Linked DNA regions of Homo sapiens: regions 2 and 3 are each linked to region 1. Evidence: promoter capture Hi-C in 16 types of primary human blood cells and fetal thymus (Javierre and others, 2016). All regions are on one chromosome and are shown on one strand. Each heading gives the region's core, a stretch centred on a gene start or on the middle of the fragment in contact. The rest is flanking DNA. Distances are from core to core; before and after follow the strand shown. Region 1 holds the start of GGT5 (gamma-glutamyltransferase 5). Region 2 holds the start of SMARCB1 (SWI/SNF related BAF chromatin remodeling complex subunit B1). Region 3 holds the start of C22orf15 (chromosome 22 open reading frame 15).

What was found. The method cuts DNA at HindIII sites, captures the fragments that hold promoters and counts their contacts. A CHiCAGO score of 5 or more calls a contact.
Region 2: the fragment with the promoter of SMARCB1 here is called in contact with the fragment with the promoter of GGT5 in region 1 in 6 of 17 cell types (M0 macrophages, naive CD8 T cells, fetal thymus and 3 more); the score reaches 7.3 in M0 macrophages.
Region 3: the fragment with the promoter of C22orf15 here is called in contact with the fragment with the promoter of GGT5 in region 1 in 1 of 17 cell types (monocytes); the score reaches 5.3 in monocytes.

What each region holds. Positions count from the first base shown.
Region 1 is chr22:24,243,772-24,246,471 of GRCh38, forward strand. It overlaps GGT5 (gamma-glutamyltransferase 5), which reads right to left and starts at 1,311. Exons shown (of 12, transcript NM_004121.5): 1 at 782-1,311. The coding sequence starts at 954. RefSeq lists enhancers at 92-647, 648-1,203, 2,316-2,700. The HindIII fragment of the contact is 5,279 bases long and covers 1-2,700 here.
Region 2 is chr22:23,785,572-23,788,271 of GRCh38, forward strand. SMARCB1 (SWI/SNF related BAF chromatin remodeling complex subunit B1) reads left to right here and starts at 1,395. Exons shown (of 9, transcript NM_003073.5): 1 at 1,395-1,691. The coding sequence starts at 1,599. The HindIII fragment of the contact is 10,586 bases long and covers 1-2,700 here.
Region 3 is chr22:23,761,599-23,764,298 of GRCh38, forward strand. It overlaps C22orf15 (chromosome 22 open reading frame 15), which reads left to right and starts at 1,392. Exons shown (of 6, transcript NM_182520.3): 1 at 1,392-1,733; 2 at 2,489-2,575; 3 at 2,662-2,700. The coding sequence starts at 1,709. The HindIII fragment of the contact is 2,909 bases long and covers 1-1,430 here.

The DNA of each region.
Region 1 (2,700 bases), core at 61-2,560:
ACCACGCCCTCATCCAGGACACCAAGTATCAGTCACTCAGCTCACGAGACCCAGGCCCTGACTCAGGGAGAGAGGATGTGAGGGGTGGGGCACCGGGCTCCTCAGGACTGAGAGACCCGAGATGTGGCCCCAGGCTGGGTGTTGGGGCAGACTGGCTATGGCAGCATTGTGTGTACCCCAGCAGGCCAGTACCCACGCAGGGAGCCTCCAAACCCCTTCACCCATGACCCTGGGAGAAGACCGCAGCCTTGGAGAATTGGCCTCACTGAAGGGGCCTGCACCGGCCAGCAGGGTCAGGCGGGGCCAGACAGGTTCCCACCTGGGATATGCAAATGGGCCTCCTGAATCCTGGAGCCAGGCGTGGACTCACACACCACCATTGTCCCCAAGTCCCCATCTGCCCCACGAGCACACCCTGCCACCTGTTCTGTGCAAGGGCCCTGAGGCTGCCTCCTTGCGCCCAAGACCTGCAGGTGCTGAAGCCCACACACACACGGCTCCTGCTTCCTGGGCCAGTGCACGTGCACACACACACACACACACACCCACCCACACATACACATACCCACACACAATCACACACATTCACACACACCCACACTCCCCACACTCACACTCACATACACTCACACACACCCACACATGCATGCAATCACACATACCCAGACACTCACACACACACCCACACATACATTCACTCACACACACACACACACACACGCCTTCTCCAGGAGGGGCTGGCTGCCAAGGGCCACCCAGCTTCCTCCCACGTCTCACTCACCGTCCAATATCCGAGCAGACCTTGGAGTCGGCGGCAACAGCAGCGTGGGCAAAGGCCTGGGGGCCACATGGGGCCTGGTGTCGAGAGAGGACCACAGCCAGCACAATGACAGCCAGCGCCAGCCCCAGACCCAGCAGGACTAGGCTGACCGTGGCCCCGTAGCCCCGGGCCATGGCTCTGCAGCCCAGGAGGAGAGGGGCGGCTGGTGGGCAGACGGAGGGACGGATGGGTGGGCAGATGAATGGACAAGAAGATGCACAGAGTCACAGGTAATTGGACAGATGGACAAACAGGTGGGGGCTGAAGACAGACACGAAGATGGATCGACAGATAGGCCAGATAGCTAGACAAAGAGGACAGTAAGAGAAAGATGGTCAGATAGACAATGGGACAGAGATGGGCTTACAGATGGGCGGACAGACAGACAGGTCTGAACAGCGGGCTGCCAGATGGACAGATGGGTGAATGGACAGATGGCTGGCAGCTGTGGCGAGCTGCTGCCCTCACCAAGTGCACACTACGGAGTGGCCAAACTCACGCCTCAACTTCTGGTTTTCAGCTCCTGCTTGTTGCTGGCAGGAGGCCAGGCAGCAAAGCGTCTGAGGGGAGTTTTCCTTGCCTAGAGGAGTCAGCTGCTGTGTTAACTCCCTCACTGCTAGTAGGTCCAAAGGCCCCACCTACCGCCCGCCAGAGCCCAGGGTCACACTGTCGCAATGTGCAGGAGAACTTGGTGCCTGCTGCACTGCGGTTGCCAGGTAGGGGCAGGGCTCCCTGGAACCTCCACACCATTCCCCGGGTTCCCGGCAGCTCTGGGAAAGCAGAGCTGGGGCCGCTCAACTCTCTCCCCTGGATCCGGCAAGGCTGCCCCCCTCCCAGAGTGGAGCCCTGCTCCCCAGCTCCCATCTCTATCCCCTAACCCTCTCCTCATGGCCCAGCCTAGTCAGCATCAAGGTGGAGCTGAACAGAGGCAGAGGGAGGGGGACACAAGGTGGTGTCACTTAAAACTTGGGTTCAAGTCCTTATGCTTCTGCAGCCTGGCCTGGGTCCCACAACTCCCCAGGGTGGCCAAGGGCTTCCCAGTCTGCACAGAGGACAGGGGGACTTGACAGCATCAAATGCTGGTGACTACAAGACGCCCATGTGGGGAATGCAGACAGACCATGCCTCTAGCCCTTGGCATCCGGGACCATTTGTCCAGGACTTGCTGTCCTGGAAATGCAGCATGGACCTCCAGGGAGGGAGGCTGTGTGGAGGCCACGCCCTGCCTGTAGCTCTTTCCCACCCTAGCTGCGGGTCTGCTTCCCTGAATCCAAATCCGCTATTACTGTGCTGGCAGCGCAGCCTCTCTAGGGACACTGGCCTGGCTCTGTTCTCCCCAGGCCTCAGGGTGCCTAAATGGGAGGCAGCCAGGAGAGTGAGGACCCACTGAGGGGCTCTGTTGACCAGGCTCAGCAGGGGTGCAGGTGATGTGGGCTGGACTTCTTCCCACGTGGCCCCCACAGTCCTCCCCGCTTCCTCCCCAGCTGAACACTGCCTGCTCCAGATGTCTACACCTGGAAGCCGGGCCCCCCCATCTGGGCAGCAGAGAAACTGAGGCACAGAGACAGACTGTGTCCTTACAGGCCACACAGCCTGCCAGGCCCCTATGTCCAGCCAGAGCCCCTGGTCAGCCTGGACTGGAATGATTGTTTAGAGGCAGGCTGTTCCCACGGCTGCCTCTCGCGGTGGGGGGCCTGTGGATGCCTCCTCCCGCCCCCACCCGACTCCCAAGCCTCAGTGACATTGCTCAACCAGGAGCTGAAGTGCATTCCTGGGCTTAGGCCAGCCCACCCACCCACCCGCTGCAGTCCTGGAAGCTCAGAGGCCTGGGCAGCAGGAACAGTGGAGACAGCAGCGTGGGGGACGTCCCCCCTCCTCTC
Region 2 (2,700 bases), core at 145-2,644, 460 kb before region 1:
ACCACTGTGAGGATACAGAACAAAGCAACTTCAGTCACTGCCCTTCCCAACTCTCCAGTGTCTCCTTGCCCTACCTTCCAGCCCCATGTGTGTCTTCGTAATAGCATAGTTGCATTTTTTTTTTTTTTAAGAGAGGCAGGGTCTCCCTTTGTTGCCCAGGCTGCAGTGCAGTGGTGCAATCAGCTCACTATAACCTTGAACTCCTGGGCTCAAGGGATCTTCCCCTCTCCACTTCCCAAGTAGCTGGGGCTACAGGTGCACACCGCCATGCCACACCCAGCTTATTTATTTTAGAATTTTTGTAGAGACAGGGTCTTGCTGTCTTGTCCAGTCTGGTCTCAAACTCCTGGCTTCAAGTGATCCTCCCTGCCTTGGCCTCCTAAAGAGTTGGGATTACAAGGCCGGGCGCAGTGGCTCACACCTGTAATCCCAGCACTTTGGGAGGCCGAGGGGGGCGGATCACGAGGTCAGGAGATCGAGACCATCCTGGCTAACATGGTGAAACCCTGTCTCTACTAAAAATACAAAAAATTAGCTGGGCGTGGTGGCGGGTGCCTGTAGTCCCAGCTACTTGGGAGGCTGAGGCAGGAGACTCCAGCCTCAAAAAAAAAAAAAAGAGTTGGGATTACAGGCATGAGCCGCTGAGCCCAGCCACAGCTGCAATTTCATTAGATTGAACGGTGTGAAATCATCAGTAGTGGGCCACTGTTTTACTCCCTGCATTATTCAATCATGATTGCTTTCAGACTTTCATTAGTTTCACTAGCTTCGCGCTGTAAGAGCCAAGAGGCAGAGCCACAGGGCTGGGCTGCCTGGTTTCACTCCCCACTGCAGGGCTCGGTTAAGCAGAGTGTAGGCTAAGAGAGGAATGGAGAAGGTGGAAGGTGTCTCTCCCTTCCAACGCTCATCTGATGCACCAGCCAAACCAAATACCACCTGGGCCTTTGAACATTGCCAAGCCTCATCCGCTGTTGTCATTTTGCCCACCTCCACAGCTGCAGGGACAGCCGTAGGCCCGGAACTGGGATATCTCTTCCTAGGGGCCTGCCTATCTGCTCAGCTGCACTGCGTTTTAGGGGTGGGGAAGCTAAGGCACGAGATTGGGGTCCCAAAGCATGCCCAGACCACCCAGGCTTCCAGATACTAGGTCCTCCTCCTTCAGGCCTCACTTCGTTGCTTTTCCCCTGGGCTCAGTTCCAGTCCTGGCTGTAAGACTGGGAAAGCCACTGCTTGAGTCAGGACCTCATTGGCTATTTTTGTCCGTGAGAAGTCCTCTACACCACGACTTGGGAGGCAGCCTGGGAGAAAGAGAAATTAGTCGTGGCTCCTTTAAGGGGTCCGCGGAGGCGCGCCCGGCCTTTTGTTTGAGCGGCGGCGCGCGCGTCAGCGTCAACGCCAGCGCCTGCGCACTGAGGGCGGCCTGGTCGTCGTCTGCGGCGGCGGCGGCGGCTGAGGAGCCCGGCTGAGGCGCCAGTACCCGGCCCGGTCCGCATTTCGCCTTCCGGCTTCGGTTTCCCTCGGCCCAGCACGCCCCGGCCCCGCCCCAGCCCTCCTGATCCCTCGCAGCCCGGCTCCGGCCGCCCGCCTCTGCCGCCGCAATGATGATGATGGCGCTGAGCAAGACCTTCGGGCAGAAGCCCGTGAAGTTCCAGCTGGAGGACGACGGCGAGTTCTACATGATCGGCTCCGAGGTAGCCCGGGGCGCGTTCTCGCCCTCCCCGGGCTCGGCCCCGCGGGAGCCCCGGGGCGGGCCCATGCGCCGAGAGCGCGCGTCTCCATTCATCGGGGCGGGCGGGCGCGCGCGCGCGCGCTCGGGGCTGTGGGGCGTGGCCTAGTGGGCGTGTCGGGTGTGGCCCCCGCCCCCTCATCGACCTGGGATTTCCTTACTTATTTCGCCGAGGTCCGCCGCCTTCAGTGCTGCCAAGATTTTGGCGCCGCGAGGGGCCCCAGTGGTTCCGCGCTGGGTTGGTTTCCAGTCAGACGCAAAGAAACGGGATATTGAGTTAGCCCCTGCGACGCTTGGGGGACTGCACTGCTGCCTTTGACCCTTTTTAGATGTCGTAAATTTCACGTGCACCCCTCCCCGTATTGCTACTTGTGGGAACCTCAAATGGCAGGCTGGAAACCCTGGACTTAGTGAGGGCTCATCCCCATTGTGTTTGTTGCCTCTTAGGTGAGCAGTGGAGGTCTTTTGACCTTTGTTTACCGGTGAAGAAACAGATTGGAGGAAGATGTTTGCTTTTGGGTGAATAAGGGCCCCATGCCTAAGCTAGATCTTTCAGCAGTTCTGAAGCGATTGACACTTTCCATATCTGTGAACTGATTCTGAATTATTACAGGGGAAAGAGCCTAAGGATGTTTAACCCTTAACTAGAGTGGCTGCATTTTGTTGCATCAACTGGATGACTGACTTCAGGAAAACTCTACTGGCCTTTGAATGGGTGTTTGTTCCAAGTCTATTAGGTTCTTGTTTTTTGTTTTTTATAGAGACAGGGTCTGGCTATGTTGCGCAGGCAGGTCTCCAACTCCTGGGCTCAAGCAGTCTGCCCGTCTGGGTCTCCCAAAGTGCTAGGATTACAGGCATGAGCCACCACACCCGGCCATATATTAGGTTTTTACAGATTGTCTCAAACTAGCCTTTTTTGCTCCAAAGGCAGTCCCCAGCTAGTATATGTTACCTTTTTAAAAAAATTATGGATA
Region 3 (2,700 bases), core at 142-2,641, 480 kb before region 1:
TGGCCGGGCACAGTGGCTCATTCCTATAATCACAGCACTTTGAGAAGCTCAGGCAGGTGGATCACCTGAGGTCAGGAGTTCGAGACCAGCCTGGCCTTCCTTATGTCTACTAAAAATACAAAAAATTAGCCAGGGGTGGTGGCTGGCGCCTGTAATACCAGCTACTCCGGAGGCTGAGGCAGGAGAATCGCTTGAACCCGAGAGGCGGAGGTTGCAGTGAGCCGAGATTGCGCCACTGCACTGCAGCATGGCTGACAGAGCGAGACTCATTCTCAAAAAAAAATAAATAGGTCAGGCTTGGTGGCTCAGCACTTTGGGAGGCCAAGATGGGCGGATCATTTGAGGTCAGGAGTTCGAGACCAATCTGACCAATATGGTGAAACTCCATCTCTATTAAAAATACAAAAAAAGGCCGGGCGCAGTGGCTCACGCCTGTAATCCTGTAATCCCAGCACTTTGGGAGGCCGAGGCGGGCAGATCACGAGGTCAGGAGATTGAGACCGTCCTGGCTAACATGGTGAAACCCCGTCTGTACTAAAAATACAAAAAAAATTAGCTGGGCGTGGTGGCGAGCGACTGTAGTCCCAGCTACTCAGGAGGCTGAGGCAGGAGAAAGGCGTGAACCCGGGAGGCGGAGCTTGCAGTGAGCCGAGGTCACACCACTGCACTCCAGCCTGGGCGAGGGAGCGAGACTCCGTCTCAAAAAAAAAAAAAAAAAAAAAAAAAACTAGCCAGGTGTAGTGGTGCACACCTGTAGTCCCAGTTACTTGGGAGGCTGAGGCAGGAGAATCGCTTGAACTCGGGAGGCGGAGGTTGCAGTGAGCCGAGATCGTACCACTGCATTCTAGCCTGGGTGACAGGGAGACTCCATCTCAAAAAATAAAAATTTAAAAAACACCAATAATAATAATAATTAATAAACTTAATAAATAAATAAATAAAAGACAGGAAATGACGGTGAGAACCGGTGTGAGGGACTAGCTAGTGGCCAGTGCTAACAAGGAGGTGCTTGTGACCTGCTATGGACCTGGAAGCGACTAGGGCTGAGTACAAAGGGGGCAAAGGAATTTGGGGGTGATGGAAATGTTCTGTATCTTGACTGTGGTGGTGGTTATATGAGAGTTGGCATAACTTTAAAACACCAGAAAGGGTGAACTTTACTGTACAAGTGGTTCACAACTGCAATCCCAGCACTTGTGGGAGGCTGGGGCTGGAGAATTGCTTGAGCCAAGTTCGAGACCAGCCTGGGCAACATAGGGAGACTGTCTCTAAAAAAAATCAATCCCAATGATGGCATTCCCCGCCTCAGGGAATGCCAGCCCCCACTTCTTCTGTCACCTCTCCCCCATGGGCCCCGTTAACGGATACAGGGAGGAAGGCATTTCCTGCCTAGATGTCTCCGCCCCCACTGCCATGGAGACCAGCTTGGAAGCTTAGGGGAGCTGCTGTGGCCCAGGGCTCAGTGGGGAGGAAGAGGAGGCCAGGAGTCTTGGACTAGCTGCAGGGTTTGAGCTAGGCTGAAGCAGCAGAACCACAGAGGTGGCTGAGCAGGGGCCTGGCCCTGGGACCCAGCCATCCACACTCACACATCCACTTCTCCCTCCAGAGCCCGGCCCTGAAGCAGGTCTCTGCTCCACGCTTTTCCTTAGTTGGGGAATCGAGAGTTGGGGGATCAAAGCCCCCCACATCTCCCTCACCCGCTGCAGCTATGTTTATCAAGGTGATGTTTGGGGGTAAGTGGGGTCCCCTGTCTTGGTAGGCGGATAGGGGGATGAGCACACTCAGAGGCGTGCTTCCTTCCGCCCTTGCGGTGGGTGGGGAGGCAATGGCGGGAAAGGGGGGTGGTGCACATGGCGGGGGTCGTCGGGGAAGCGGCTCTGTGAGGAGGCGAAGCCAGCACCTGGAGCGAGTCCCTTAAAGGGAAAACCCGAGCTGAGTCCTGCTCATTCACAAGGGTTCCTCTCGGCCAGAGACCGCCGCATTACCCTGGAGCAGGTTTTTAAGCCGCACAATCTCTTCGCCATTCAATCCGTGATCCTCAAGCTTCAGCGTGCATCAGACACCTGAAACTCTAGCCACAGTTGCAGGGTCCCCGTGCCTCTGGCTGGAGGCGGGTCGGCCCTGTGCGGTAGCGGAAGGGAAGAGAGGAGCCGGTGGGTGCGGAGGGCGGGGACTGGCTGGGTCCCGTGGGGGCGGGTCCCGGGAGGAGGCTGGGCTGGCGCCCACTTCGTGCTTTGCAGGACTCAAGAGACCAACACTTGGGAGTCACCACACATGGGAGAAAAGTCACCACACATGGGAGATGGATGGAGGGTTCTCCAAGGCAGTTTAAGCAACAGATGTTGGAGCTGTTATGCCCGGGGCACAGTCTTAGCCCATAGGCCCAGTCGCAGCTCTGGGAAAGGGAGAGATGGGAGGGAGAGACAGAGGACCCCGATTTGGAGGAAGGTAAGAGATCTCACAGGCTCACCTTTGCCCCTCTCCACAGCTGGCTGCTCGGTGCTGGTGAACACCTCTTGCAGGCTGGTGAACCTCACCGCCCACCTGAGGCAGAAAGCAGGGTTGCCCCCAGATGGTGAGGAGACAGGGAGGAGAAGGAGGGGCTGAGGGGTCCCAGGCAGGGGTGCCAGCCCTGCCCAGTCTCTCTCCATGTCCTCCCAGCGACCATTGCTCTCCTGGCTGAGGATGGCAACCTAGTGA